Regions from separate parts of the Homo sapiens genome. Here all the other regions are linked to region 2. The links are contacts of gene promoters, found by promoter capture Hi-C in blood cells and fetal thymus (Javierre and others, 2016). All regions are on one chromosome and are shown on one strand. Each heading gives the region's core, a stretch centred on a gene start or on the middle of the fragment in contact. The rest is flanking DNA. Distances are from core to core; before and after follow the strand shown. Region 1 overlaps PRKCH (protein kinase C eta). Region 2 holds the start of SNAPC1 (small nuclear RNA activating complex polypeptide 1). Region 3 overlaps PRKCH-AS1 (PRKCH antisense RNA 1). Region 4 has its middle 16 kb from the start of LINC00644. Region 5 overlaps PRKCH (protein kinase C eta). Region 6 overlaps PRKCH (protein kinase C eta). Region 7 overlaps PRKCH (protein kinase C eta).

Region 1 (3,527 bases), core at 880-3,379, 350 kb after region 2:
AGGGTACATGGGCGGGGCGGGGGGGGGGCGCTTAAAAAGAAATGATGAAGGTTGTCATCACTGAAGGGAATGGGAGAAAAGGAGCTGGGGTGCTGGGGACCACCACTCAGAATAGAGGCCAAGGGTTTGCAGTCGTTTGAGGTGCCCAAAGGGAGAACATGAAACAGAACCAAATGCAGCATCACGGTCACACGAAAGATTGCAGAGAAAGGAGAGGTACACTTTGTAATTAGAAAGTGTCTGGGCAAGAGCGAAGCAGGAGCTGAGTAGAAAGTTGGTGGTGAGACGCAGATACAAAACGTTTGTCAAGATAGTTGGCTGCAAAGGGGGGAAAGAAATAGGATGGTAGCTGAGGATACTATGATCAGGTGAAGAATTTTTTTTTTCTGTTTAAATCACCACAGGAGAAGCAGCCAAAGGAGAGCAAGGGACTAAACAAAGTGTGGTCAGTCCAGGTAAATGAACATGTGAGAATGTGTTAAGAGGCCAGAGAGGATGGATCCACCCAGGAAAAGGTGTAGCTTCTGTAGGAAGAGAGGTTCCCTGGCAGCCAGCAGAAAGGAAGAAAAGAGATGGCCACACTGAGGGACAGCAGGCACATAAAGATGGCAGATCTTGCAGGATTTTTTCAGCAGAGTAAGAGAAAGAGAATATGAGTGGGAAAAAAAGTGGGAAGGGGCTTTCAGGTGTAAAAGTTTTAGAATTGCTGAGAAACCAACACAAGAAGAATGCTTCCGTTTTTGCTAAGTATCTGCTTAATGCCAAAAATTTATATGCCATGGGTCCAGCCAGCAACATCCAATCATCTGTGAGATGATTGCTCAGGTCAGGCATTGGCACAGCAGGCATGAAGGAAGATTAAAGGGTCAAGTGACCCCTGGGCATCACTGAGTTAGCACTGCAGGGATGACCCCACAGTCCTGGCTAGAGAGAGCACTGAGAAGATAAGTAGGAGCTTATGGTTCAGATAAATTAGCAGGGGCCAGGTTCAGGTCATATGGGTTCGGTTGAAGTAACATAAGGATGGAGTCATAGAAAAGCAACCCATGTTTCAAATCCAATTGGGGTCTTTTTGTTTATTTTCTCCATTTTCACTTTTCTACTTGTCTTTTTAAAGACAAGTATGTTTCTGCTTAACATATGGAATATAGTTATAATAACCATTTTAATGTCCTTATCTGCTAATTGTAACATCTGCGTTAATTCTGGGTCAGTTTTGATTGGTTGATTTGCTCCCATTATGGGTTGTACTTTCTTGCTTCTTTGTACATCTGGTAATTTTTGGTTGGATGCCAGACACTGGTTTTTGCCTATTGAGTGATAGTTTTGTATTTCTATAAAATCAGCTTTGATCTGGGACACAGCTAAGTTACTCAGAAATAGTTCGGCCCTATCAGATCTTGCTTTTTAGATTTAAAGCCATGCTCAGTTGGGTTAGTTATTCCCCACTAAGCAAGCAAGGCCCTTCTATGTACTCTACTCTACCCAATGCTCCATGACTCTTGAAGTTTTCCAGTCTGGTTGGTGGCAGAAGCACTATTTCTGGCCCCGTGTGAGCACCAGAAACAGTTATCTTTGCTCCTTTTGAATGGTGCTTTCCCCAGACTCAGGCAGCTTCTTTACACTGATCAGTTCTCAGAACTTTGTACACCTCCAGAGTTATGTCTTGGTGCAGCTGTCTCTTCTCTAGTACTGTATCCCATGATCTCTAGTGGCCTTAGTCTCTCTGGACTCTCAGATCCAATCCTCAACTCAGGGAGTCTGCTGGGCTCCACATGGTTCCCTTTTCCTGTGCTATAGCTTGGAAACTCTTTTAAGGCAGTTTGAAAAAACTCAGAGGTCTCACCTCATTTGTTTCCTATCTCTCAGGAATCATTGGCCTTTGTTGTCTGATGTATCCAGTGTCTTACAAATCATTGTTTCATTTATTTTGTCCATATTTTGTTTTTCACATGGGAAGATAAATCCAATACTTGTTTCAGCATTTGGCCAAAAGTAAAGTCCCCCTATAGGTTTTAAACTGAAAAATCCAAGAACCATCCCATCAGTTTAAGGCCTAATAAATACATCTGTGGCTGACTGGAACAGGGGTCCTCAAGTGTTAAGTGCCTGCCCTGTCCACTCTTTTATGCAAAGAGTTACTCTATGTCATGCCATAATCATCCGTTGACACCATTCCTATCTTGGTCACCGAGGAGGACAAGGGACTGGTACATGAACCAAAGAGACGTGTAAAGGATGAGCATGAAGGCTGGTGTCTTCTGAGGTGGCTCAAAGGTCTGCATAGTGAAGACAGCCTCTGTTGGATGGGATGGTTTGTTGGAAGTCGCTGGGGCTCAATCCTTGCTGAGCTCTGATCCACTTTCCCCAGAAGCCCACTGGATATCCAGGCTTGGAAGTCCTGACTTCAAATGACTGAAGGCCTAAGGAAAAGACAGCATCCACGATGTCTCATACTTTCTGTCCCTTTGCAATCACCCTCATTTTCAAAAATCATCTGTCCACAGCTCTTCCTGACAGGCTTCATGAGCCCAGGCAACACAGCCATTCGCACGGTTTGGAATTAGCCAGGCACACTGGTCAGTGTTGATAGTGGAAGGTGATCAGAACAGTAGGAAATGTGACCACCCAAGGGACCTGGCCATGATGGCTATGTTTATGTGTAGCTACCACAACAGGGATAGAGGTCGGGTGCGTTGCCTACAGGTAACGCTTATCTTTGAAATTAGAAGATAAGGAAAGCTCTGGGAGAGGGAAAAAGAGCATCCAATAATATGCTGGGGACTGCAGAAGGAGTAATTTAGCCACACCAGTGCTCTTTGCCTCACTCCATTGGCCACAATTGGTGCTGGAAGCAAGAAGCAAATACGCAGTTAGACTCCATTCACCAGCATCACCCCAATACCCCTAGAATCTAGGGCCTAGAGAAAAAGAGCCTTTAACAGGATGAAACCTGTCAAACTACTCAGAAGCAGCTGAGCCTAGCAACAGCCCAACGGATTTATATTACCCTACAGGCAGGCAGCATGGAGCAGAGTAAAAAGATTAACCCAAATCCACTCAAGTTAATCAACGGTTTGTCAACACATGCTCCCATTTCACATGGAACAAAATTGTAATTTTACCTTCAAAATGCATAAGAGATATTTTAATTAATAATCAAATACTAGATTTAAAGTGGATTTAACATATCACCATTTTTAAGAACGGGGTGGGGGTGAAGTCCTAAGTGAAACAAAACCTGCTCACAGACTCAAGAGATGCCATCTGGTCATTCAAAGCCAACCAAGCCTGTAAAATTAAAATCATAAAAGTCAACACACACTTTAACTTATAACTGAGAAGCTAATTTAATAAACTAAGGCAAATATTTGGGAAAAGGCCAAATGCTGTAAAAATACACAGAGTGAACCAACTCAATTTATTGGTGAATAAATAACAAAATAAACAACCACAGTCACTCCAAGTTGACAGGCAACATTTGATCAGGTCATCAGGCTGGTGACCAAACCTAACAAGCTCCTAGT
Region 2 (3,707 bases), core at 19-2,518:
AATAAAAACAGGGTGCTATGCGGGGAAAAAACATGAACAGCGTACTCAGTCTAGAAGAGCAAAAAAGACTTCCCCCGAGGATGTCATTTGAGCTTAACCCTGAGTGAAGAATAAGGTGGACAAAACAAGAGAGTTGCGGTGGAAACTCCAGGATTAGGAAAAGCCTGTAGAGGGCCCAAAGAAAAAAAAAAAAAAAAAAAAGCAGCTGCTGGAGCAAGAAAGTGAGTGCATGGAGGGGACTGGCAGGCGAAGCTGGAGAGATAGGCAAAGGCCAGTGAGGAATGGTCTTGGCAAGTCAGAGAATTCAAGCGTTATCCCAAAGGCAATGGGCACCACTACAGAGTAATAAGTCGGGGAGTGACATAATCAAATTTGCACTTTTGAAAAACAACTTTTGGGCCGGGCGCGGTGGCTCACTCCTGTAATCCTAGCGCTTTGGGAGGCCGAGGCGGGCGGGTCACGAGATCAGGAGTTCGAGGCCAGTCTGGCCAACATAGTAAAACCCCGTCTCTACTAAAAATACAAAAAATTAACCGGGCGTGGTGCCGGGCACCTGTAATCCCAGCTACTCCGGAGGTTGAGGCAAGAGAATCACTTGAACCTGAGAGGCGAAGGGTTGCACTGAGCCGCGAACGCGCCATTGCACTCCAGCCTGGGCGACAAAAGGAGACTCCGTCTCAAAAAAAAAAAAAAAAAAAAAAAAAAAGACAACTTTGGTTGTTGGAGGAAAAATTAATTCAATCTTGAAGGGTTTTGTCTTTGCTTGTGTGTTTTTAAACATCAGGTCCTAGAACAAGACTGGGGAAGGGCAAATGATAGTGGCCTGGCTCAGGGTGGAGATGGGAGAGAGGAGTTTAGAAGGGAGGCCAGGCAGAGACGCATATTTGGGAGGAGGCCGCAACAACCATCAGGGCACAATGAAATAGAGCAGGGAAAGCGCGTTGCCTGAGCACAGGGGAAGGTCCAGGAGTCATGGAGGCAACCTTCGGTGACTGCCGCTCTTCTCAGCCCTTCACAAGTGCAATATCGCCGGGAAGGAGGCAACTTTCTACACCACCTGCGGGCAGGGAGAGGCGGGTGGTGGACAAGAAACACCCACCAGAAGATAGTCCCGAACTTCATGTTTCTCCAGAGCTCCGTGAAGTCCTCGAAGCGTACACTGTCCGTCTCCTGGAAGCGGCTGAGCAGCGCCTCGCAGTCGGTCTGCAGGCCGGGAGGAGTCCCCATGGCACCCGAAGCCCGCACGCCTCCGAAGCCCGCACGCCTCTAACGGACTAGCCAGCGGTGGTCGCCCAGGAAACCAAGCCCGAACGGCCCGCCCCCTACGGCGTGCGCACACGCGCTCCGTGATGCATTATCCGGCACCTTTAGCTCCGCCTTTATCCGGGCTCTTGCCACCGGTCGTGTGCTTACTGCGCGTGCGTGAAAGCGTTCTGATGTTTTACTGGCTGAGATTGCTTTCACCCAGAGTGCTGAGATCCACCCTTCTTTGGAAGAGGTTTACGTCTAAAGTGTTGTGTTTGCTCACGAGCGGTTTTAGGTCTTCATTTTCCGCTAGGTTATGTAACTTGACTTTACCCTTACTAGCACTCTCCTTTAAACTGACCCTAGTGTGACATAAGTGAACTTTTGAGCTAGGAAAGAACAGTCCCAACCCCAACCCCACTCCCACTTGGGAAGAGAAGCTAAAGAAGGCTTGCTAGGAAACAAACTGCACTCATTCTCCTTCTGGTCATCGAGAACCCTAATACTCTGTACCCACATAATACGATGCTTAATGTGCGGCCCTCTCTTTGTAGCCCTGGCATTCTGCAACCACTCTTGAAAAGAAGAGCTGCATTTCATACCCTCTTGTAAACAGCCCTCCTCCTGCCCTGCCACGCATTCACCCCTGTGCTACATAGCACTTAGCAGAAAATACCTACTTGTTATATTCTTGTTATATTATTATTTGGATGAATTGCCTTTTTGTGTACACGCTGCCACCTAGCTTCCTTCCTCCAGGAGCTAGCTATGGAGTAACATTTTGAACTTTAGATCATTTCTCTGATTGAAAGGTAAGCTATCATTCTTTAGAAGAGGTATCCTGATATAATAGAAAAACATTGGGCTTTCTGTGTGTAAATGGAGTGTCAACTCACTTTACTTTTCTGATCCTTGACCTGTTTTTGTTTGTTTGTTTGTTTGTTTGGATTTGTTTGTTTTTTGTTTTGAGACGGAGTTTCGCTCTTGTTGCCCAGGCCGGAGTTCAGTGGCGCGGTCTCGGTTCACTGCAACTTCCGCCTCCCGAGTTCAAGCGATTCTCCTGCCTCAGCCTCCCGAGTAGCTGGGATTACAGGCATGCACCACTCCAACCGGATTTTGTTTTGTTTTGTTTTGTTTGTATTTTTAGTAGAGACAGGGTTTCACCATGTTGGCCAGGCTGGTCTCGAACTGCTAACCTCAGGTGATCCGCTCCCCTCGGCCTCCCAAAGTGTTGGGATTACAGACGTGAGCCACTGCACCCTGCCCTCTTGACCTGTTTTTTAAATGTTATGTAATATTTTATGTCACAGAAAAATTTATGCGATGTGTGAGATAAAAAGCATAGCAGTTAAACACCTGTACACCTTTCACCTGTGTAGGAACCAGAACATTACCAACGCCTTCACATCAATCTGCGATTTCCTCCTCTGACCTATTCCTTTGACTGTACCCTACTTTAATCACAGCTACTGGTTGGGCACGGTGGCTCACGCCTGAAATCCCAACACTTTGGGAGACAAAAGCAAGAGGATTGCTTAAGCACAAGAGTTGGAGACCAGCCTGGGAAACATGGTGAAAATTAGCCGGGCATGGTGGTGCACACCTGTAGTCCCAGCTACTCGGGAGGCTGAGGTGGGAGGATCATTTGAGCCTGGGAGATGGTGGTTACAGGAGACAGAGGTTGCAGTGGTGAGCCGAGATCGTGCCACTGCACTCCATCCTGGGCTACGGAGTGAGACCGAATCTCAAAAAATAAATAAATAACTACCTTGAATTTTGTTTCTCTTTCTCATGTATATATTTTATCACATATGTATGTATATTTAAACGGTATATTTTTTAGTTGTGGTTGGTTTTGAGTTTTATGAAAATGGTATTGCAACTGGCTGGGCGCAGTGGCTCACGCCTGTAATCCCAGCAATTTGGGAGGCTGAGGTGGGTGGATCACCAGGTCAAGAGTTCGAGACCAGCGTGACCAAAATAGTGAAACCCCGTCTCTAATAAAAACACAAAAATTAGCTAGGCGTAGTGGCGTGTGCCTGTAATCCCAGCTACTTGGGAGGCTGGGGCAGGAGAACCACTTGAACCTGGGAGGCAGAGGTTGCAGTGAGCCAAAATGCATTATTTCCCCCATGATAGAGTGGGGGAACCATTTGGGAAATGGTTCATTACAACAGATAATTTGAGAAGCACTGTTATACACCATTTCAGTCCACATTCCATTGGCCAGAACTCAGTCACATGGACCCATTCAGGTGCAAAGGTGGCTGAGAAACGTCATCACTAATTAGGCAACCTCTCCCCAACAATAGTTTCAATCGCTGGAAGAGGTGCACACGTCTTTGTTGGACCACGTATTAGCTCATTTCTGCTGCTATAACAAAATACCATAGAATAGGTAGCTTACAAACAACAGAAATTTATTTCTCACAGTTCTGGGAGGCTGGGAAATCTAAGATCAA
Region 3 (3,483 bases), core at 258-2,757, 440 kb after region 2:
CTCTCCCTGGAGAGCCGGACCTACCCGTCCGGTGAGCCCCAGCCCCAAGCGTCTCTTCCCCCGCCTCCTCTTGCTTCTCCTCCTGCCCCCGCCTCCGAAGGCTCACGCTCTCCCCCACTCGGCGAGCTTCAAACCAGGAAGCAGCTGCCGCCGCCGCATCCCCGGCGAGAACCTCGCACCGCCAGGTTCCAAGTTCACAGAACCCCCGCGTCCGCTCCCGCGCCTTCCGGACCCCAGGGGCGTGGCCCGCGGTCCGCGGCCCGGCCCTGCGGTGGGTGGATCCCCGCGCAAGCCCCCGGGAGGCCAGTGCCCGCTTGCGCCGCCCTGCGCGCCCTCCTTGTAGCGCTGGGTCTGGCCGTGCGCTGCGGGTTAGGGGCCACCCCGGGCGCAGGCCAAAAAGGAAAGGGTTCGTGGCCCAGCCCGAGCAAACACCTGAGGCGTGGTAGACTGACCTGGGGAGCGATGGAAGGTTGGGAGGACGCAGAGGAGGGCGCTCCAGCCAGGAACCCGCGCGGCGAGGAGTCGCCCGCCCCCTCTCTCCCAACCTCCCCGGTGGGCTGGTGACCCTGCAGGGCCATCCCCAAGAGGCCCTGGCCGGAGGCGGGGGCACGGCGGGGAGGTTCTTTTTCCTAATATTTACAGGGATGGCTCATCCCGGGGTCAGCTCGAACGCATCCTGTTTGTGCGCCTTTCCTGCAGAGGCTAATTACACAGTTGTGTGTATGTGTGTGTTTTAATAGGGCAGTAGTAATGATGGAAATCCTGTTCGCCTCCTTCCTCGGAAGGTGTGTCTTGTTGCACATAGAGCAGGAAAGGTCGGTTCTTCTGGAGACAGACATGGCCAAGAGGTAATAAGTCTCTTCCTCTGCGGGTGGTTTCTGGTCCACCCAGCTCTGCGCGGCAAGGGCAGAAAATGTTCACACACACAGGCTGTCCCCAACACACACGCGGAAGAAATTGCCTCTTCTAGGAACACTCCAGCTTGTTGTATTTGCAGTCAGAGTGGGCAGCCTTCTGATGCTTCCCACCCCGTGGTCCCTGCAGATTTTGTCTCCGGGGAGGACCTTTTAGCCTACGCTGCTATGCCGCAAAGCTTGCTCCCTGAGGGCCAGCCACAACCAATTTGTTCCCCAAAAAGCCTAGGCCACTTTTTGTTGTTGTTGTTGTTGTTGTTTTTGAGACGGAGTTTCGCTTTTGTTGCCCAGGCTGGAGTGCAATGGCGCCATCTCGGCTCACCGCAACCTCCGCCTCCCAGGTTCGAGCGATTCACCTGCCCCAGCCTCCCGAGTAGCTGGAATTACAGGCATGCGCCACCACGCCCGGCTAATTTTGTATTTTTAGTAGAGACAGGGTTTCTCCATGTTGGTCAGGCTGGTCTCAAACTCCCGACCTCAAGTGATTCGCCTGCCTCGGCCTCCCAAAGTGCTGAGATTACAGGCGTGAGCCACAGCACCCAGCCAAGCCTAGGCCACTCTTAAGATACTTGATTACATTCTGTCTTGCTATACTGGTTCCCTCGGAGCAGATTCGGCTTGCTTTCATTCCTTTCTTTCTTCCTTCCCTCCTTTCTTTCTTTTATGTTTTAGAGACTGGGTTTTGCTTTGTCATCCAGGCTGGAATACAGCGGTGTGATCATGGCTTACCATAACCTCCAGCTCCCAGGTTCAAGTGATCTTCCAGCCCCTGCCTCCTAAAGTGTTAAGATTACAGGCATGAGCCCCCGTGCCTGGCCCCAGGTTCATCTTTCTAGCCCCCACTCCTCTAAGGCCCTGTTCAGAACTTTCTAATTGAGTAGGTTCTCAACGATTTCACATGAGTGCAAGGAGGCCTGACCCGTAATAACAGCACTATACAGAATGAAAACAAGTAAGGACAATGGGCCAGGGGGGAAAGGGCCTGTCTTGAAAACACCAAAGCTTCCTTAGAGAACAAGGCAGGGATGCAACGCATCACTCTAATGACATCTTAGCTTTAGGCAGGGCTTGTAAAGCCTGCTCCCAAACGTCCAGGGGGCTCCTGTTTGGCCTTAGTGCTCCAGGGGAAGATGTCGCATCTACCCTGTGGGTCAGCTCTGTCACCCTTTCCTCCAAACAGCTGAACTCTAGCTTTAAGAGCCACTAAAGGATTTGCTCCTGTTGGACTTTGGGGCTAAAAGAAAACAGTCCCCATACAGAATCATGGGGTGTAGACTTTAAATTTTTTTTTAAATTTTAAAAAGAAAACAGTCCCCAAATGGTAGGTGGCCACACAGCTGTCCTGGGACTGGGATATGACGATACCAGACACTCCATCTTCACCCTATCAGTACCTATCAGGATTGGCAATGGTGACAGAGCAGTGGGTCAGACAGCCATGGTGCCTGCCCTCCTGGGGCTTACAGTCCCACAAGGAGGAAAAACAACTAATAGAAGAGGGTGCAGTGAAGGAAAAGCCCACGGTGCCAAGGGGTGATGTATTATAACTGGATGGGTGGTCAGGGAAGGGTTCCTTGAAAAAGCAAATAGCAGAGAGATCAGCTCATTGAGAGCTCCTGAGGAGACAGATGGGTTGGCCTGTTTGGGAACCAAAAGCACCCTACGTGGCTGGAGCTGAGGAAGGCGTGGCTGGAGCTGAGGAAGGTGAGGGGAGAGTGGCTGAAATGAGCTTGCAAAGGTGGTCACACTGACCAGACTGGTAGATCACAGGAAAGCCTTGGACATTATCTATGGGCCACTGGACGCCTCTGAAGGCTGTTAAGCAGAGCCAGGGTAAGATGAGGATTTGTGTTTTAAAATACCTCTCTGGGGACAGGCAAGGTGGCTCACACCTATAAACCCAACACTTTGGGAGGCTGAGGCAGGAGTACTGCTTGAGCCCAGGAGTTCAAGACCAGCCTTGGCAACATGGCAAGACTGTCTCTACAAAAAATAAAAACTAAAAAAATTAGCTGGATGTGGTGGCATGTGCCTGTAGTCCCATTTTATTTTTTTAGTAAAATAAAATATCTCTCTCGGGGGTGGATTGGAAGAAGCAGCACGAGTGTGGGGAGACCAGTTTATGAAGCTGTTGCCAAAGTCCAGAGGTGAGAAGATGGTGGCCAGGACTCAGGTGGTAGTGATGGAGATGAAGATAAATAGATGAATTCAAGAAGTGTTTCAGAAGTAGAACTGACAAGTCTTGATGACAGATTGAAGGGAATGAGGAAGAGGACGGTATCAAGGATGACTTGCAGAATCTGGCTTGAGCCAACTGTGTGGACTAGGGAGCTATTAGGGAGTTAAGAAACGGCATGAGACAAGGTGTGGTGGCTCATGCCTGTAATCCCAGCACTTTGGGAGGACAAGGTGGGGGGATGGCTTAAGCCCAGGAGTTTGAGACCACCCTGCGCGACATAGGGAGACTCTCATCTCTACAAAAAAAAAAAAAAAAAAACTTTTTAAAACTAGCCAGGGCACGTGCCTGTGTTCACAGGGGAAGCCAAGGTAGGAGGATCACTTGAGCCTA
Region 4 (3,605 bases), core at 753-3,252, 360 kb before region 2:
TTCCTGGGTTCACATTGAGAAGCATCAATGGCTATTATTAGCATGATAGCTGGGCAGGTCTCTAATTTTTTTAACAAGCTCTAATGAATTACTATAGTGTAGGTGACAGTGAGAAAAGGCTAGAAAATGAGATGAGTAACTTCATCATGAGCAAACATGACTTTCTTATATGTATCTTTTTAAAATGTCTGCTCATTTTATCTTCCAATGTAATGCAATATCTACAGCATTTATGACCAATTAAGAATCTTTTAATGAGTAATACAAGGGAAGGCAGGTGGCAGATTAGAGAACCAAATGACAAATAAACTTATAGTTCTGGATCCCAAGTGTACCTCCAGGAAAGATATTTTTATTTGACAGATCAAGACCAAAAAAATCATATCAAATGATTCCAAGGTTCATAAAGACTGTCTGGCTATCATCAACCAATTAGCCTAATATACTGAATGTATCAGATCCTGAAAATACAGAGAAAATTCCCAGGAGTTCTAGATTTGAGTCTCAGCTCCTCCGTGGGCAACACACTTAGCCATTTAGTTTATTGCTCTTAAAAAATACCCACATGGGTTGTTAAAATGCTGAAAAGCCTTCACAGCTGGTATCAGTTTGACAATTATCTCCCTGAAAGCTGTTTAGCTATTTAAAATGTTTTCAGTATCAATTTTGGAGGATGGTTCTAGCCACTTTTAGGTTAAAATATATAGCAAACATAAGTTCCTACATCTGTTTGCTTGGCTGGATTAGAACTCAAAACATTCGGAGCTGATAACTATGTATCCATCACCTGATTCAGCCTCCTCAGTGTCCAGATGAGAAAACTACAGCCCAGACGAGTTCAATAATTTACATTCTGGCACGTGGCTATGAGTTTGGGTTTTGAAGTCAGATGGAAGTGGTCTGAATTCCAGCTCTGCTGCTTCTTATTTGAGTGACTTTGAGCAAATTACATAAACTCTCTAGAAATCTCATTTGTAAAGTAAGGATAGAAATAACACTGGCTCATAAGATCATTGAAATAATTCATGGAAAGTGACTGGCACTGTGCCTAGCATATAGTAAACACTCAATCAAATTGTAGACCTTATTTGTGCCATTAGTCACAAATCTACCACATAGAAGCAGAGCCCAGCCTGGCCTCCTAGCTCTGACTCAAAGACTCCACCACCCTGCCTCCCAAAGATACTAGATTGTAATTAGACAGTTAAAAAAAACTGCAAGAAGATATTGCAAATGATCAAGTTGAAAAAACGTAGTACAGATTCTATAACAACTCCAAATATTTCTGGTGTATTGCCACTGGTCATGCATTTTGGGTGAAGGAGGTGTAAACTATTTTTGAAACATACAGGTAATCATCTGGATAATTAATTAAAGTTGATCTGACTATCCAAAGAAGTTTGGTTGTTATGATTCAGTAAACATGTGTAAATCGGTTATAGTTCTCCTGCAACTAAAAGGCCAAACTTAACCCAGCCTATTATTCAAATAAAGATGACGAAATAGACAAGAAAAAAAATGAAATGACTTTATGTCTTCACATTCTGAGTGTTCTGAGCTCTGAGAACAGTATGTAAATTACAAAACTGAATTAGGCTGAGCCTAAATTTGTCTCTGAAAGTGAAATGGCTAATGATGGCTTGAATATTCAAGCTGTTTCTAATGCTATATCCTCTGGGCCCATAAAATATCTGTGCCAAGCTCAGTGTATTTGGTAGTATAAAACATAAATAACCAACAAATTAAAAGTTACAGAACAGAGTGACCATCCCTGTCATTAGAGTTCTAGCAATATAATTTTTATATAATTCTTTAAATAAATGTTTAAAATGTAATTACAAATGATTGCTCAAATGCTCTTCCTCATTGCTCTGCTTCTGCCTCCAGAAAACTGAAATCCTATTACGGTGTAAGTGATTTCATTTGGTACATGGTCTGGAGACAGTACATTAAGGAAACATCATCAGCAAATTAATTTACAAACACTTTGAGATAACAGACCACAGTAAAAAGAACAACTCCTGTCAAAGCAATCCATTCTTTGTCAAGACTCAAAGCTGGAGACATGGTGAAGAAGTGATCAGTTCAATATATCCTAATTTTAGTTTGGCTTTCATTTTTCCCCCCACAACATTTAAATCAAAACATTCCAAAAACAGAGTTGAAACCATCCTATTAGATGTGTGCATCCTACCCACAGACAGAAGGGGTGGAGGCTGATCAATGACAAGAAAGAAGGTGGGTTCCATCTCAGATCAACAACTGACTTGTGTTATAGATAAATCAGGCACCTCAGCTTCACAATGTCTTACTGATTTTTCTTTGTAACATGTTAGCCTGGCATGAGCCTTTAAAAGTGCAATTGTCCCTATCTAGCTAAATAATGATTTGCTGGTGACAAAGCTACTGGAGATATTTCCTTAAGGGCCATGACCACAGTTGATTAGAAAGAGTTACCCCATCTGTCCCTGCTAACCACATTCTGCAGTCTCACTGCATGGCTTGAAATACTTCAGCATAACCTTCTAGTTCTGTCCAACGGCACTAGTTCAAATACCAGCTCTACAGTTTATTTGCTTACTGACTTTGGCCAAGATATTTAAACTCAAAGAGCCTAACTTTTCTTTATCTGTTAAACGGGGGGACAATACCAAACTCATTGAGTTTTACTGGAATTAGAAGAGATGATGTTTAAAAAGCAGTTACTCAGTGCCTGTCACATGTGCTCATATTTCCTGCTCAGTAAATGTTACGTATTATTATTGCAGTGACTTCATTTTGAAATCATAAGTACATATCCTGCTCAGCAGCATTATATTATACCTAGGACATTGGTCCTCTCTTTAGTGCTAAGCATGGGCTGCATGAAGCATTCATGAGTGTATTCAAGAAGGTAGATGGGTGCAAAGTTCAAGGCTATGATGCTGTGCCTTCTGGAGACCTTTGGCTCTGTTGATGTTTAACAATTTTCCATCAGCCATCTTTCTTCTCTCTCATAACCCCCTTGCCTATCACCTTTCTGGATAATATCCTTTATGGTAGCAGAACTCAGTGTCAGGTTTTATCTCCAAATCAATGGAGCAATCTGTTTCTTCAGATTTATCCACCCCAAGCACAATATTGACTTTACTGGCAATTTAGAATTACTAACAAGTTCCAGCTCGAGCAGACTTTCTTAGGAACTTCCAGGAATACTGAGAGCCAATGACTTAGAAGAGTTTCTCAAGATACCAGCAGCATTGTCTGGTACTAGATTGCATCCATGTCCCTTGGGATAACCCCAAGCACAGGCATGGAATAGTAAAGAAAACCCCACCAGTTCCACAAGCCTATCCTGCTCCAATGGTAATGGTCTCTGAACCAAACAGAACACCATTAGGTTTCCTTAGATGCTGCACTAAAGCCAGTTGCTGCCGTGATCTGGCCCTGCTAATGACAGAAATTTAGAGGCGAAGTGCAGGAGGCTTCTTGGGTAAACTTTTTGATTTTCCACCCCCTAGAAGTGCATTCCTGATTCTGAGGAATGATGCTTCCTTTTACCCCATCTTTTACCTTGGAAAGTAGAAATGAATTAGAAAGAAAATTGCTTTTTTGGAAGCACATTG
Region 5 (3,659 bases), core at 156-2,655, 390 kb after region 2:
CTGAATTGAGGCCTGAAGGCAAGTTTCAATTAGTGGGAAGTGAGACCATTCTGAGTCAGGAGCAACCTGTGAGAAGTGATAGAACTAATATCAGAACACACACTTGATCAGTGTCATTGGAGGAATGTCCATACAGGAGTAAGAGAGAAGGCTGGAGGCAAAACACAGAAAGAGCTACACCCAGAGAACTGTAACCTTAGATTGCAGGCCAAGGGGAGCCACTAGAGGTTTTTGATTATGTAAAATGATAGAGATTAACATGTAAAAGGAAGATTTTGTCTACTAGATGAATGAATAGACAGACAGCTATGGTCTAGAAGTATGAATGGTTTGCTAAGGGTGAAATCAGTGAAAATTAATAATCATGTGAAGAGAGCAAACAAAAGCAGTGGAAAGGCCAAAGGAGTATGGAGTTTGGGGCCTGGGTATCCTAGATCAGGGTCAGCAAACAGCAGCCCAAAGGCCAATGCCAGCTGCTGCCTATTTTGATAAGTAAAGTTTTACTGAAACACAGTCACAACCCTTTAGTTACATATTATCTACAAGATGAGTAGCTGTGATTGAGACCTTATGGCCCATGAAGACAAAAATATTACTCTCTGGCCCTTTACAGAAAGATCTGCCCATCTCTGTTGCCACTAATCAGCCAGGGAACTCAGGGAAAGAACATGTTTTAAAGGGAAAGAAATGAGTTTAAATTTGGACACAAAAGTACTCAAATAGAAATATCTGGCAAGATGTTGGAAATAAAGACAAATCATGTAGTTAAACATACGGCTGGGGTTATCATTTGGGAATTTTTCTCAAAAGGTAAACACTAAGTCTAAGAGCAGTGAAATTTTTCAAGAAAGAGCACAGGAAAAGAAGAAAAGAAAAAGCAAATTCACTAAAGGAGTGAAAGAAAGAACCAGAGAAAATACAATCTGAGAGGTGGGAGGAGTCCCCAAGTTTAGCATCATGGGACATGGAAACAAGCAGCTTCAAAAGAGAGGAGAAGCCAAATGTGCAGATATGGAAGATGAGGTCTTTAAAGGGGAGATGACAGTAGATGACCTGGGAGATGACAGGTAGACTTCTTCCATGATACCCACCCCATCATTAGCAATTCTGTTGGAAAGGTCATCCTTACATTAAGCTAAAGACAATCTATATCCCCATAACTTCCACCTGCAAATTTCATTACACCTCTAAAATTTACCCTGCCAACATGGGGAAAGAGACAGATGTGGAAAACAGCACAGAAGCTGCAAGGAATACATGGTTTAATTAAATTGTATCTCATTTAAGTGAATTAGAAGGTAAAGCTAGAAATTAGAAGGTAAAGCTAGAAATGCAATGGACGAAAGGTTTGGATGCCAAGTTAAGAACTGAAATTTCATTTCAAATAATTAGGCTAGCAACAGTCCTAAAACAACATGCTGGAGGACAAACTAGAGGGGTGTAGATGGGGCTGGAGGTGCTGGGCAGAATTAAGAGACTGTCTCAGTGGTACAAGTGTGCAGTGGAGGAGGCAGGAGAGAAGTATTACAAAAGAAGCTCAGCAGGACTTGGTGGCTAAGGATAAGGGATGATGAAAAGCCCAAAGGCAGCTGTAGTATCTGGAAGACGGTAAGACTAAATCTGCAAGAAGTAAGGCAATCTAGAGGGTCAGTTGGTTTGGGATGACTCTGGTTTTTAAAAATACTGATTTGTAGGGAGATTAGAAATGTGTGACAAAAAGATAAATGGGACCTGAAACTTAAAATAAAGGGCTGGGCTGCAGGTAGAGTCATCCACACAGGAATAACTGAACCACAAGACAGCTGACTGACCCTCAAGGAACAATTGTACAGTTCAAAGAGCAAAGAATCAAGGACCAAAGCCATGTTTAGAGAATGAGAGAAAGCAGAACCAGCAAAACAGAAAGAAGGGTGTTGGGAAAGGCACGCTGGCTACCCTGAGCAGACCTTCACAACCACCTTCTGAGTAAGGAAAAGTAAAGCAGCATTATCTCCATTATATTGCACAGTCATCTGGAGACTGAATTAGGTTTGGATTATTAAAATCCCATTAAAGGCCTTGAGTACCACACCCACCACACTGTGAATAAAATCTTAATGTATTTATGAGCTTTTTTTTTTTTTTTTTGAGACAGAATTTCACTCTTGTTGCCCAGGCTGGAGTGCAGTGGCATGATCTTGGCTCACTGCAACCTCTACCTCCCGGGTTCAAGTGATTCTCCTGCCTCAGCCTCCCAAGTAGCTGAGTTTTTAATAAACCTGGCTAATGAATATTTGCCACACAAGCCTTCAAAATATTCACCTGTCTCATTCTCTCACTTCTTATAAAATCAATTTTTGCCCGTGGTATGGTTTGGCTCTGTGTTCACACCTAAATCTCATCTCGAATTGTAATCCAGTCATGTTGGGGAAGGGGCCTGCTGGGAGGTGACTGAATCATGGAGGCAGACTTCCCCTTTGCTGTTCTCATGATAGTCAGTGAGTTCTCACGAGATCTGGTTGTTTGAAAGTGTGTGGCACTTCCCCCTTCACTCTCTCTCTCTCTGCTCTGCCATGATAAGACGTGCTTGCTTCCCCCTCACCTCCTAGCCATGCTGTTGTACAGCCTGCAGAAATCTGAGTCAATTAAACCTATTTTCTTCATGAATTACCCAGTCTCACGTAGTTCTGTATAACAGTGTGAGAATAGACTAATACAGAAAATTGGTACCAAGAGTGGGGTACTGCTATAAAGATATCTGAAAAGTATGGTAGCAACTTTGGAAATGGGTAACAGGTAGAGGTTGGAACAGTTTGGAGGGCTCAGAAGACAGGGAGATATGGGAAAGCTTGTAACTTCCTAGTATTTGTTCAATGGTTGAGACCAAAATGCTGATAGCGATATGGACAATGAAGTCCAAGCTGAGGTGGTCTCAGATGGAGACTGAGGAACTTACTGGACTGGAGTAAAGGTCACTCTTCCTATGTTTTAGCAAAGAGACTGGTGGCATTTGGCCCTGCCCTAGAGATCTGTGGAACTCTAAACTTGAGAGAGATAATTTAGGGTAACTGGCAGTAGAAATTCCTCACCAGCAAAGCATTCAAGATGTGGCCTGGCTGTTTCTCAAAGTGTACACTCATATGAGTGAAGAAAGGGATGGTGTGAAATTGGAACTTACATTTAAAAGGGAAGCACAGCATACAAGTTTGGAAAATTTGCAGTACAACCATGCAGTAGAAAAGAAAAACCCATTTTCTGGGGAGAAATTCAAGCCAGCTGCAGGAATTTGCATCAGCAACAAGGAGCCAAATGTTAATAGGCAAGATAATGGGAAGATCTCCAGGGCATTTCCAAGATCTTCACAGTACCCCTTCTCATCACAGACTGGGAGGCCTAGAAGAGAAAAATTGTTCTGGGGGCCAAGCCTAGGGCCCTCACTGCTCTGTACAGCCTTGAGACCTGACATCCTGTGTCCCAGCCACTCCAGCTTCAACCATGGCTAAAAGGGGCCAATGTACAGCTCGGGCTGTGGCTTCAGAGGGTGCAAGCCTCAAGCCTTGGCAACTTCTATATAGTGTTGGGCCTGTGGGTGTACAGAAGGCAAGAGTTGAGGTTTAGGAGCCTCCACCTAGATTTCAGAAGAGGTATGGAAACATCTGGACGTCCAGGCAGAAGTCTGC
Region 6 (3,582 bases), core at 324-2,823, 370 kb after region 2:
ACCTCCCCAGAAAAGCTTTCTCTAAACCCTCCTGGCCAAATTGATTATGTAGTCCCATGTGCCAACACTATGCACTGGGCTTATTCCTGCCATGGGACCTGGCTCCCTGCATTGCATACATAATATGTATCTGCCTTCCCTCCTATGAGCTCCTGTGAGAGTGTCTATGTCTCGTTCATCTTTATCTCTCCAGCATCTATGATGTGATTACAGGTCTGCACCCAGCAGGTTTTTCTTATGTCACTTCTCAATCATGTCTTACATTTAACAAAATAGTTTTGCCTGAGCTAATTCAGTATAATTAATGAAAAATTAAAAAATGAGGTAAGTAGCAGTCAGTAGCCCCAATACCAGCCTTGTATATCACAGACCACCGTCCAATTTAAGTAATTTTTTTTAAAGGAGTGCTTTGAGATTATAGAATCTGAGCTTATGGCAGAACCCGCATAGGAGATCATGAAAACAGGCATGGAGATAAGCCAACATTATGCTAGCCACTGTCCATGAAATTCTTGAGGCTTCTTGTATAAAATAAAGTCTTTTCTTTTCTTTTTTTTTTTTTTTTTCTGAAACAAGGTTTCACTCTGTCACCCAAGCTGGAGTGCAGTGGCACTATCTCAGCTCACTGCAACCTCCACTTCCCAGGCTCAGGCAATCCTCCCACCTCAGCCTCCCAAGTAGCTGAGACTACAAGTGTGCACCACCACACCTGGTTAATTTTTGTATTTTTTGTAGAGATGGTGTTTCACCATGTTGCCCAGGCCGGTCTCAAACTCCTGAGCTCAAGCAATCTGCCTGCCTCAGCCTCCCAAAGTGCTGGGATTACAGGTGTGAGACACCACGCCTGGCCATAAAGTCAATGTTAAGATAAAACGAACCTGCTGAGTATACAAGATGGTCCCAGGGCAGGGGTAGGGGAAATGACTGGGATCTCCTTGCTGTGACAATAGGAACATGGAAATGAAAATCCCACTAACATACCTTCATATAGTACTTTATAGTTTGCAAAGCACTTCCCCATATATTATATCATCTGACCTTCAAGACAACCATGTGAGACAGACTGAGGATCAGCCAACATTTCCTGAGCTTTGACAGTGCCTCCAGGATCCTAGGACAATGCCCTTTTCACAGTCCAAAACACACTGGGCAGGCCTGACCTTACACTGCTTTTCCATGAAGGCTTTCAGTATCCAAGATGGGAACTAGAGCTCCAAATGTTGCACCAGCCAACCTGTCATATTATGGCTGGACATAATCTAAGGTGGCTTCCAGGAGCGAGGTCAAGCTAGGGACATGCTCTCAGTGCCAGGTCCAGGTTGCTGCCACAGCTGTGGCAGGCAAATGCGGGGGGGGGCTCCATTTCCTTCTTACTTAACACAGACAGGCAGCCATCACGTCCTCTGCATGTGACAAGGGAGCGGTGTTTTAAAGGCAGCAGCAACGTGCAAGCTCAAGCTGAGCCCCAGTCTAGGAGCCAAAATGAAAAAGCAATGCACGCACAGAGACACAGAGAACAGATATGGGGTTCCTAAAATATACCCCACCCGTAGATTTCAATATTAAAATTTTAGCATTAAAAGTCTATTTCTCATGGATAAAGCAGCTCTTCCAGCATCTTTTAAAATATGCAAACACACCTAAGAGGAATAGAGTACTATGACATCAATCTCTATCACTGTAGTGTGAATTAGCCTATGAATTAACTGTTTTCCTTATCAGCAACTCTTTCTGGACAGGGACCACTGGGCTTCTTGCTGCAGTAAGGGACAACTGTAGGCAGAGACAAAGGACTAGCTTAAAGCAAAGATGGAATTACCAAAGATAAACTCAACTCATCTCACAATTTTACCCAGGGTCAGCTCTGAAAGACACAACTGCAATGACCTAGTAAGAACTCACCTCTAGTATGACTTACCATTTCATTCTTATTATCACTGAAACTAAGAAATAAATACAATGAGAACAATCAGATGTATTTGGTGAGCATTTAGTCCTAGAGAGTTGGCATGGCTCTAAAAAAGTCATGTAATGATTATGGCACAATCAGACCTGGTCTAACATGCATTGCTTTACTTCGCCAGTCCCTTGTAACTTAATGCAGAGAGTTGATTCAGCTCGAATGAGAGAGAATCTTACCCACTCCTCCTCCTGACCTCTTTCTCACTGTTGTGTTTCTTTCTACCATAGCTGATCCATGTTCTACGTGCATGATGAGAATGTTTTATCAACAATGTTCCATAATACTACATTGATTTTATTTGACTAGGCTAGGAACAGACTCATTTTTCTCTGTACATAAAAGATACCAAGCAAAGCAAAAAGACCTTGGAGCAGGCAGAACACCCCCCCAAATTGTAACCTGAACAGTTTTTTTTTTTATGTCAAGTATTCTAGGTTTCTGCTAAATCCAGGTTTGTGCAAAAAGACAAGATTTAATAATGCAGACGATATATTGAAAAACTTTAACATTAAAACAATTCACCCATATGAATGGGAATGGTTGGCTGAAAGGAGTGGAGAAAACTATTTCTCAAAGAAAGTGTAACCAATTTTGCAAAATGCCAATACCAAAAATACAAACAATTAAGCCACATGCTTAAAAATCTTCATGAGGTTTTAGTAATGGTGAAGTAGCTTGATATGGACCAACCCTCCCACCAAAAGATTAAAATACCTGGAAAATATATTTTAAACAACTAGTTGATGATGTGAGAGAACAACCAAAAACACATACAAACTAGAGAGAATCTGACACGTGAAGGAGGGAAACCGCATTAGGTGAGACCCACATTTGTAGGGCTTTTCTCCAGATTATTCCCCAGGTTGTGCAGGATTGGGTAAATAGAACTCAATATGGAACCACAGTTTTATTGGCTTGAAGGCAGAATTGACAAAATTCAAGCCTACCAGATGACTGGATATTGAGGGGAGAAAACCTGGAAAGATGGGGCCACAGAAAGAAGAACCTCCACATATGTAAACTCTTCAAGCCCTCACATCTTCCTAAACTGTGCATGTGCAAGGGAAACTCTAAGAGGTCCAGACAGGAGCAAGAGCTAGGATGCTGAAAGATAGGAACTGAGATTTCAGCTGTTTCCCACCCATAGGAGAAAGAGTTAGAAGCTTGAGTGACATAAAATTAATGGGCTTAAAACACCTTGGGATTTCTACTGAAACCTCACACTGGCTATGCCTTACGAGCAAAGACCATGTCCACGGACTACAGAATTGACTAATTTGACTACAGATGGGTTTAAAGATACTCAAGATTGTTAAGATGTTAATTCCCCTCAAACTGATCTATAGATCCAACACAATTTCAATTCAAAATACAGCAGGATTTTGTCTGGAAATATATAAGCTGACTCTAAAACTGATATCAAATTGCAAAATACTGAGAATAGCTAAAATAACCTTAAACATACAAAAAAGAACGGAGTTGGAGGGCTCATACTATGTAACCATAAGACTCACTATAAAGCAACAGTAATGAGACAGTGTAATACTGGCATAATGTAGAGAAAAGAAAGAGAGATCAGATGGACAAACAGATCAACAGGACAGAACAGATAATCCAGA
Region 7 (3,511 bases), core at 154-2,653, 420 kb after region 2:
CTATTTTGGCAAAGGTGGTTGCATCCTCCCTCACTGACCGAATGAAGTCAATGCTCATGGTGTAAAACAGTTTTAATGTGTGACACCTCACATCTGCCAATACAAATTATTAATGAGGTTCATTACTAGTTATATTAGGCTTTAGTGTGTAAAAAAGAGAGAGGCATCATTAGCCAAATTCTGATGAAAAGGACCCAGCAGCTCCAAGGGGCCTACATTAAGTGTCTTGTCTCACACAGCCTCTACTTAATACGGGCCACTACTTAGGAGTAATTGAATCAAAGCTAGAACACAAACCTCCACAAAATTGGGATTAGGAAATAAACTACAGATGTTCCAATTGCCTTAGGCCCAGAAACACCACAGTTAAGCCCAGCAAGGCAGGAGTTACTCCAACTGACCACACCTGGGTATGGGTACCAATGCCCAGAGAAAGCAGATGAAGGCAGGTAAAGGAGGAACGAAAGCATGAATAGACCTGCAGTGACACTGTCCATGGAGACTTGAAGATAATCAGAAAAAAATTATCAGCACATCCAAACTGCTTTAAACTGCAATACCTCAACCCCACAACTCCAGGGAAAACAATTAAATAAAAATTAATTGCATTTTAAAAAAGTAATTCAATCAATATTCCCTCCTTTAGCTTGGCACAAACCAAACCACCTTAAATAAGCAGAGTTATGACAGTCTCTCCTGAATTTTCACTTCACAGTTTTAGGAATATCTATTCTGGATTTCTTTCCCCACCAGTCCCCACCCGTCAACTTGCAATTTCAAAGGGACTCAAAGAAACAACTGAATCACCGGTGAACAGATTACAAAGCAAGGGGCAGCAGACAAGCCAAAGTAAACATACGGTAAAATTCCTAAGCCATTCCTAAACAATGCTTGTGAGGACATCAACATCATTAGCTAATGAGGGAATGAAAAGATGGATGTGAAAAACTATAATGCTTTGGAAAAATAACTCCTTTAAATGTTCATTACTATAATGGCTGTTTGGTTGAAGTCCAGGACTGCAGGTCGACTTTAAATCAAGTCCACATTAAACAGAATGGGCTCGCAAAACACAGGCAGAAAGATGTGAAGCATTTGCCCATGCTTGCTTTGATCATGGAAGCTTTATTCCTTTACAGAATTCTGCATTAACACCATAGTACACACATACATGAAAATCTGTGTGCCCTAGAAGTGTTTATGTATCTGTTTCCCCTATAAGACAAGCTCCTTGAGGGCAGGGAAACTATCTTTTTATTTCTGCACATCCCATGTGTTGCATAACCCCAGACACGTAATAATTGCTCCAATGAAATGTTAAACTTATTGGCAAAATAACAGTTAATTTTGAAAAAATCAAAAGGGAAAATAAGACCATTGGTGTAGGCCACAGCCTTAAGAACTGGGAAATGACACACTATCTCAAGTTACTGTTTGCAGAACGTACAACATGATGCAGCATGCTTGTGCTGATAAATTCAGTTGTGACTTTACCTAGGAATTCACTGTTAGGAGTAAAGAGGATAAAATCAAAGGTATTATAGAAATGGATAGTGTAGCCAGCACAATGTTTAAGGGGAGATATATCCAAAAGGAGATCAATCAAATTTGTATTATGTGATCATTTGATACCTCATTCATTAAATTGCTAAAAAAAAATTGGTGCCACCCTGACAAGCTTTCTTGAACAAGGGAGGCATGTCCATTTGGGGAGCTGTCATCTGCTGCAGATGCACACACAACACATGTAAAGTGTCCCTGCTACCCAGGGCCCTATCAACTCTTAAACCTTTAATCATTTCTCTACCACTTTACATCAGAATTAAAAGGCATATAGCCTTAAAAGGCAAATACCCAGAGTCCATCTGAAAAATTTTTACTTTTCTTCATATCAACCACCTGAGGCAGGTGTAATGCAGCTTAGTGGTTCCATGCAGGTGCTCAAACTCTAGCTCCACAACTTTAAAAAAAAAAAAAGAGAGACAGGGTCTTGCTATGTTGTCCAGGCTGGTCTCAAACTCCTGGGCTCAAGCAATCCTCCTGCCTTGGCCTCCCAAAGTGCTGGGCCACCGTGCCCAGCCTTCACCACTTATTTGGGGCAAGTATCTTAACCTCTCTGAGCCTCAGTTGCCTCCCAAAGAGGAGGATAATAAGAGAATCTGAATATCTTGAAGGTATTCTGAGGATTAAATTAGTTAATGCACATGAAATACTTAGCCTGACACCTAATTAATCCTTATTGTGTATCTCCTATTATTGTATATTATCCCACTTGCTACTCTATTCATCACTCCTCTGCTCGCCTTCCCTGCTCCAACACTGCAGCAGAATTTAAGAGAGAAGGAACAAGTTAATGCACAGTTCACAGCTATTTCAGCCATCATGAAATTACTGCTGTGGCTGTCAGCCTTGCCTCCATATACAAATGTTGAAAGTTAAAGCCTCTGGATGGAGAAAAAATACAATTTTGTGGTAGTTGTTTTGTTTTCTATTGCTGCATAACAACGTATACTCTTTTCACTTGAAGTCTAAAACCTACATAGTCTGGAAAACTAAGTACGTTTATAACCATGAAGAGGCTGACAAAAGACTTCACAACAATCTATTCTTTCTACCCTCAAAGGGACCACAGTGACAGAAGATCCTGGTAAGACACTGTCCTCCCAGAAAGTGCTTGCTAGAAAAGGGTTTGAGAAGGGAGAGCCATTTATATGTAAATATCTTAGACTTGTTACCCCTAAAAATAGTGGAAAGAGGGAAATAATTTGTTAAGAAATATACCAGAAAAGGGAACTGAGGGTGAATGAGTATACAGCCTAGTACTGTGACAGGAACAGAAAGAAGCCCTCTTGGCCAGCCTAATGATAAGGTCATTCTCCCAAAGTAGAAACTGGAAAACTAGCATGTGAAGCAGGGCACGCTCAAGACTAGCCTCAATCAATCAACTGGGGGGTTCAGGGTGGCCACCGGGCTAAAAATAAATAAATCTTTTGTTCCAGATGACCTTTAAGGTTCTTCAAGCTTTAAGGGGCTAGCAATCTGGATCTGGTGAAAACAGGTCACATAGGCAGGCGGGAGGAACTTCTAGAAATAGCACACAAACAGCCATCACCCAAGCAAAGATCAGCAGGGTCAGGATTCATCAGTGCAAGGGACCACTCTGCCACTCTCAGTCACAGGCAACCCCGCTGACTACAGACCCAAGTGTCACCCGAGGCGTACCTGCAGCTGCTGGATTGATCGTCCCACAGCTGGCTCCAGAGGCCTTAAAAGAACAGGTCTGGTCACAAGGCAACCATCCAGCACTCTCCACTACCTTGCTTGTGGCTCTTTTCCTCTCAAGTAAGTTACTGAGACACATTAGGCACTTCATTCAACAAATCACAAAAAAAGATTAAATTTTGCCCCCCAAATCCCTGTTTGCAGCTGCCATACCTGGCACTCAACAGTTTATTTTCATGGAAACACCTGGCACACAATGGAACCCCCCAGCCTGCCTCCGTTCGTACCA

What was found. Contacts are between HindIII fragments. The CHiCAGO score rates a contact against its expected background, and 5 or more counts as called.
Region 1: a fragment that was not itself captured here is called in contact with the fragment with the promoter of SNAPC1 in region 2 in 2 of 17 cell types (total CD4 T cells and naive CD4 T cells); the score reaches 6.3 in total CD4 T cells.
Region 3: a contact is called between a fragment that was not itself captured here and the fragment with the promoter of SNAPC1 in region 2, in 4 of 17 cell types (activated CD4 T cells, fetal thymus, total CD8 T cells and 1 more). The highest score is 7.7, in activated CD4 T cells.
Region 4: a contact is called between a fragment that was not itself captured here and the fragment with the promoter of SNAPC1 in region 2, in 1 of 17 cell types (naive B cells). The highest score is 5.3, in naive B cells.
Region 5: a contact is called between a fragment that was not itself captured here and the fragment with the promoter of SNAPC1 in region 2, in 1 of 17 cell types (non-activated CD4 T cells). The highest score is 6.9, in non-activated CD4 T cells.
Region 6: a contact is called between a fragment that was not itself captured here and the fragment with the promoter of SNAPC1 in region 2, in 1 of 17 cell types (total CD8 T cells). The highest score is 5.4, in total CD8 T cells.
Region 7: a fragment that was not itself captured here is called in contact with the fragment with the promoter of SNAPC1 in region 2 in 6 of 17 cell types (fetal thymus, activated CD4 T cells, non-activated CD4 T cells and 3 more); the score reaches 7.1 in fetal thymus.

What each region holds. Positions count from the first base shown.
Region 1 is chr14:61,409,905-61,413,431 of GRCh38, reverse strand. All of the region lies in intron 2 of PRKCH (protein kinase C eta), which reads right to left. Among named protein-coding and RNA genes, the nearest start is that of PRKCH-AS1, 89 kb to the right of the region's middle. The HindIII fragment of the contact is 7,709 bases long and covers 1-3,527 here.
Region 2 is chr14:61,759,981-61,763,687 of GRCh38, reverse strand. SNAPC1 (small nuclear RNA activating complex polypeptide 1) reads right to left here and starts at 1,268. Exons shown (of 10, transcript NM_003082.4): 1 at 1,100-1,268. The coding sequence starts at 1,227. RefSeq lists enhancers at 298-1,041, 1,042-1,785, 1,853-1,942, 1,786-2,529, 2,530-3,274. The HindIII fragment of the contact is 7,963 bases long and covers 1-3,707 here.
Region 3 is chr14:61,318,294-61,321,776 of GRCh38, reverse strand. All of the region lies in intron 1 of PRKCH-AS1 (PRKCH antisense RNA 1), which reads left to right. It overlaps PRKCH (protein kinase C eta), which reads right to left and starts at 198. Exons shown (of 14, transcript NM_006255.5): 1 at 1-198. RefSeq lists silencers at 136-405, 3,032-3,326. The HindIII fragment of the contact is 823 bases long and covers 1,096-1,918 here.
Region 4 is chr14:62,122,128-62,125,732 of GRCh38, reverse strand. It overlaps the pseudogene SERTAD4BP. Among named protein-coding and RNA genes, the nearest start is that of LINC00644, 16 kb to the left of the region's middle. The HindIII fragment of the contact is 4,947 bases long and covers 1-3,605 here.
Region 5 is chr14:61,374,486-61,378,144 of GRCh38, reverse strand. All of the region lies in intron 1 of PRKCH (protein kinase C eta), which reads right to left. Among named protein-coding and RNA genes, the nearest start is that of PRKCH-AS1, 53 kb to the right of the region's middle. The HindIII fragment of the contact is 2,848 bases long and covers 1-2,829 here.
Region 6 is chr14:61,393,066-61,396,647 of GRCh38, reverse strand. The region is part of intron 2 of PRKCH (protein kinase C eta); the gene reads right to left. Among named protein-coding and RNA genes, the nearest start is that of PRKCH-AS1, 72 kb to the right of the region's middle. The HindIII fragment of the contact is 3,111 bases long and covers 18-3,128 here.
Region 7 is chr14:61,344,341-61,347,851 of GRCh38, reverse strand. The region is part of intron 1 of PRKCH (protein kinase C eta); the gene reads right to left. Among named protein-coding and RNA genes, the nearest start is that of PRKCH-AS1, 23 kb to the right of the region's middle. The HindIII fragment of the contact is 555 bases long and covers 1,126-1,680 here.